Regions from separate parts of the Homo sapiens genome. Here region 1 is linked to region 2. The links are contacts of gene promoters, found by promoter capture Hi-C in human tissues and cell types (Jung and others, 2019). All regions are on one chromosome and are shown on one strand. The core of a region is centred on a gene start or on the middle of the fragment in contact, and the rest is flanking DNA. Distances in the headings are between cores, read along the strand shown. Region 1 has its middle 120 kb from the start of LINC02195. Region 2 holds the start of GSG1L (GSG1 like).

Region 1 (2,700 bases), core at 186-2,685, 1.6 Mb after region 2:
TTGTCTCTAAACAAACAAACAAACAAACAAAAAAAACAAAACACTTTAATTTATAAATTAGGCAGAGAAAGATATTAACACAAGCAATAACTAATAATAAAATAAAACAATTATAATAAAATACCATAATACCATAAAATAAGCTATATAAATGTGCTCTCTCTTTCTCTTTCTCCTCTGACCTCCTCTCAAAATATCCTAATATTTTCAGACTGCAGTTGACCACTGGTAATGGAAACTGCAGGAGTGAAACCATGTAAGCAAAACCTTGGATCCGCTACTATGTATCCCAGCAAGAACAAAACACTCTCAATTGTTATTTAGCCAAGCTCCATTCCAACTATTTTGTTTTATTTGCAGAGAACAAAATGCAAAAGGAAATACTCAGTGCTAGAAAATAACCCCCTAGGGTATACCAATGAACTGTTTGCCTAAAAATAAACTCAATTTGGCAAGAGCCACCTGCTGTTTCTTATAAAGTGACTGGGGAAACACAAATCCTAAGGCCTCGGGGACTTGTTCTCTTTCACTTCTGTTTCCAATTCTCCATACTCTATCCATTTTAAAATCAACAGCACTGAAGCATCATTTACATACAATAAAAAGGACATATTTTAGGTGTATAGTTCTATGAATTTTGGCCAGTTTATAGACCCGTGTAAGCATCATTCCCAATAAAGACAGAGAATGTTTCTCTCACGTCAGAGAGTTTCCTCAGGAGCCTTTTGCAGTAAATCGCCTCTGACTGCATAATCCAAGCAGTTGCTGATATGGTATCTATCGCTATAGTTTTGCCTATTTTAGAAATTCAAGTAAAGGGATCCTGCTTTCCTTTTATCTTACTTTTTTGCTCAGCATAATGCTTCTGAGTTTCATCCACATTATTGTGTGTATCACTAACTTGTTCTTTTTCATTGTTATCAAGTATCCTTTGCATAAATATATCACTTTTTCAAGCTTTTACCTTTCGCAAGACATTTGGGTTATTATGAGAAATGCTGCTATAAAATATTGGTGTACAAGGCTTTTTATGAACATATCATTTTATTTATCTTTTAATCATATAATTGCCAGATCCTATAGGAAGTGTATATTTAACTTTATAGGAAACCACCAACCCCTTTCCAAAGCAGTTGCAAAGCGTGAGGGTTGAAATTGCACCACATCCTGCATCATTCCCTTCTCCCAACCTATCCTCAGGCAGCCACTGGTCTGCTTTCTGTTCCTATAGACAAATTTTCATTCTGTAGAATTCTTATGAATTGAATCATACCCTGTGTACTCCTTTTGTCTGGCTTCTTACACTAAGAATAATTTTGGGATTCACTCATATTTAATAGTGAGAGGTGAAGCCGGCTTGGCTTCTAGGTCGGGTAGGGACTTGGAGAACTTTTCTGTCTAGCTAAACGTTTGTAAATGCACTAATCAGTGCTCTGTGTCTAGCTAAAGGTTTGTAAATGCACCAATCAGCACTCTGTAAAAACGCACCAATCAGCGCTCTGTGTCTAGTTAAAGTTTGTAAATGCACCAATCAGTGCTCTGTGTCTAGCTAAAGGTTTGTAAACGCACCAATCAGCACTCTGTAAAAACGGACCAATCGGCACTCTGTAAAATGGGCCAATCAACACTCTGTAAAATGGACCAATCAGCAGGACGTGGGCAGGGCCAAATAAGGGAATAAAAGCTGGCCACCCAACCAACAGCTGCAACCCGCTCGGGTCCGTTTCCATGTTGTGGAGGCTTTGTTCTTTGGCTCTTCACAATAAATCTTGCTGCTCCTCACTCTTTGGGTCCGCACTTCCTTTATGAGCTATAACACTCACAACAAAGGTCTGCAGCTTCACCCCTGAAGTCAAGCAAGACCACGAACCCACCGGAAGGAAGAAACTCTGGACGCATCTGAACATCTGAAGGAACAAACTCTGGACACACCATCTTTAAGAACTGTAACACTCACCACAAGGGTCTGCGGCTTCATTCTTGAAGTCAAGGAGACCAAGAACCTACTGGAAGGAACCAATTCTGGACACAATAGTTATCAATATTTTGTTCCTTTTCATTGCTGAGTGGTACACCACTGTGTGGATATGCCACAATTTATTTATTCACTCATCTGTTGATGGACGTTTTCATTATTTCCAGTCTTTGGCTATTACAAGTAATGTTTCTATATGCTTTTATTTAGAAGTAATTGTGTGGTCATATACTTTCATTTTTCTTGGATAAGTACCTAGAAGAATAGCTGGGCCATGTGGTATTATATGTACATGATTAACTTTTTAAGACACTGCCATATTGTTTTCCACAGGGGTTATGCAATGTTATATTTCCACCAGCAGTATGTAAGAGCTGTTTACTATCTTTACCAATATTTGGCATGACTTATCTTTAACTTTAGGCATTCTGGTGGGTACATGATATTATCTTGTTATGCTTTTAATTTGAATTTTCCCAGGGTTAATTATGTTGTGTATCTTTTAATGTGCTTATTTGCCATCTATTTATCTTTTTGTGTGAAGTGCCTGCTGAAAACTTTTGCTTTTTTTAAAATTTAGGGCATCTGTCTTCTTGTTATTGAGTTGTTAGAATTTCTTACATTTTTAAGATATAAACCATTTGATAGATGTGTTTTATAAATATTTTCTACCAGTCTGTGAATCACCTCTTTATTTTTGTAATAATGCCTTTTGAAGAGCAAAT
Region 2 (2,700 bases), core at 198-2,697:
CTCTCACCTACCCCCCGGCAGATTAGCAGCAGCTGACAGTGGGTGCCGGCTCACCCACAGGAGTAAGGCAATTCATAATCGGTTAACCTTGAATTCTGCAAGGCCTGCCACTCGGCAAGCCGGGGGTTGTCGGAGCAGTTCTCAGCTTGGGCAGAATTCAAATGAGCTCTTATAATCAACATGCAATTAATTGTTGCACGCCCTGAGCATCTGGGCAGTAAGTGCTGTGCAGCGCGAAGGGAGTTCAGGGAGCGTGGTCATCTTAGAGCAGAGGTGGGGACGGGGTTGCACACAGTTTCCACGTTGCACAGGAGAGCCTGAAGAGGTTTGTCTGAGTTTGGTCAACTGATCTTGGTTCAGATGTCAGTAACAGTGAATTATTAATTGAGTCTACTGTGTGCCAAATGCTTTTTGCAGCCATGATCTCATTACAGCAGCCCACTGTGATATACCTTGAAGGGGGGGGGGTCCTCCCTTTTTTATAGTTATGGAAATTGAGGCTCAGAGAGGGTAAGTGACCTGTTCAAAGCCACACAGCTGGTCAAGCCCTAGATATGCTTGATCCCAAAGTCAGTATGTTTGGCCACCCTGCCCCCACCCGAATCTTGAAGATTCTACCCACATTCACATGGTGTGCATGTGAGCAGGGTTGGCAGCCCCTGTAGGGCACCACTGCCTGGTAGCTGCAATAACTTTGTGGCCGGCATGGGCCCTCCTAGGGTTCTGCTGTTTGGGATCTCAGGTGGGTGCAGTGGGCTGTCTGGGGTACCCTGTTGCCACTCTTCCTGCAGTTGCATGCCATGGTTGGGAGCCCAGATGACAGTTTCATCCTTGGAGGGGAGCTCTTCCCAGATGCTGGAGGTGACACCCAGGAGACAGAAAAACGTTTCAAACCCTATAACCCAATACTCCAGGAGGGGCGCCTCCTGACAGATTCTGCCACTCCAAGTCCAGCATGGGTTGTCTTATCCAGGGGGTCTTGCAGCTCCCTGGCTGTGGGAAGCCCTGCAGGCTCTGCTGTTTAGAACCTTTGGAAAAACTCCTTTCTCAGGGTCTGGTGCGGGGGTCCTTTTGGGGATCCCCTTCTGGGACAGGGTCCTGCTGGTCCGTGTCCCTCTTGGGGAGCCCCAGCAGGCTCTGCCCTTGTCTCCTGGGGCAGGGCCTCTCTGGGTCTCATGAGATGCCCGCTCCCGGCGGGTTTTGTTGCCCCACGTCCGCCGTGGGGATCTTTTCTCAGGAGCGCCTTGCCTGGGATTCTCCTTGCGTCTCAGACCCTCACCCTGGCTCGGATTTCTTTCGGGGGCGTCCCTCCACTCCCAGGCCCCCGCCCGCGCCCGGCGTGGCGGCCCCCTCTCCCCGTGCGGGCGGGCTCCGGAACAGTGTCGCCGGCCGCCTGCAGGTGTCTCCCCACGGAGGGGCGCGCGTCCCTGCGCCGTGGCCGCTGCCAGGCGCCAGCGGCTCCTAGCCGAGGTGCACTCGCGCTCCGGGCTCCGGGCGCGCCGTAGCCGCTCCTCCACCGCCGCCCGCCCCGCCAGCCCGCCCCGCACGCCCCCCGCGCCGCGCCCCCACCCCGGGGTTGGGGGGGGCATGGGCCCGCGCCGCGTCCGCCGCCGCCGATCTCAGGCACCCGAGCCCCGGGGCGCGGCGGGCAGCGGCCGCTGACGCGGGGCGCCAGCTGCCAACTTCGCGCGCGGAGCTCCCCGGCGGTGCAGTCCCGTCCCGGCGGCGCGGGCGGCATGAAGACTAGCCGCCGCGGCCGAGCGCTCCTGGCCGTGGCCCTGAACCTGCTGGCGCTGCTGTTCGCCACCACCGCTTTCCTCACCACGCACTGGTGCCAGGGCACGCAGCGGGTCCCCAAGCCGGGCTGCGGCCAGGGCGGGCGCGCCAACTGCCCCAACTCGGGCGCCAACGCCACGGCCAACGGCACCGCCGCCCCCGCCGCCGCCGCCGCCGCCGCCACCGCCTCGGGGAACGGCCCCCCTGGCGGCGCGCTCTACAGCTGGGAGACCGGCGACGACCGCTTCCTCTTCAGGAATTTCCACACCGGCATCTGGTACTCGTGCGAGGAGGAGCTCAGCGGGCTTGGTGAGTGCGCGCGGGCGGCGGCCAGCTCGGCTCCGGCTCCCCCGGGGCGGCGCGGCCATCGAGGCCCGAGCCCCGGACCCGTTCGCCCTCCTCCCGCCGCCTGGGCCCAGCTCCCAGCGCTCCGCCTGGCTAGGGGCGACGTTCCGGGGCAGGGGGCGCGCGCCGTTCCGGGGCCGGGGACCAGCATGGGGGGACGTGCGGGACGCCCCGCCGTGGAGAGGTGCAAGGCAGAGCTCCTACCCGCTGCGGACGCCCCGCGGCTTTGGGGACGCTCCCGCGCCCCGGGAAGGCGCCCACCCCCGCTGCCGGTCGGAGGGGCGCGCGCTGCTTTCCGCTCCTGAACTCATCTCCACGCTCGCCCCCTCCTCCTCTTCCTTTCGCGGGGCACTAGATGCCCCCACCCACCCCGGAACGCCCCTGGGGGTGGGGGTGATGCAGGGACTCCTGCTACCAGCCGCCCCTCCTGCCGCAGATCCACAGACCCGGGAGCCTTCCACCCCCATCGCCAACCCACGCCGAACCTCCCAGACGGGAGTGGGGAGTGGGGGAGTCCCGCGGGCTCCCGGAAAGCCGCACCCGCCCAGAGGCACCCCTATTGCCAGACGCCAGGGAGCC

What was found. The method cuts DNA at HindIII sites, captures the fragments that hold promoters and counts their contacts. A contact is called where the count stands out against the background at its distance.
Region 1: a fragment that was not itself captured here is called in contact with the fragment with the promoter of GSG1L in region 2 in 1 of the 25 tissues and cell types used here (dorsolateral prefrontal cortex).

What each region holds. Positions count from the first base shown.
Region 1 is chr16:26,473,491-26,476,190 of GRCh38, reverse strand. No RefSeq gene overlaps it. Among named protein-coding and RNA genes, the nearest start is that of LINC02195, 120 kb to the left of the region's middle. The HindIII fragment of the contact is 5,496 bases long and covers 1-2,700 here.
Region 2 is chr16:28,062,461-28,065,160 of GRCh38, reverse strand. GSG1L (GSG1 like) reads left to right here and starts at 1,447. Exons shown (of 7, transcript NM_001109763.2): 1 at 1,447-2,085. The coding sequence starts at 1,737. The HindIII fragment of the contact is 12,466 bases long and covers 1-2,700 here.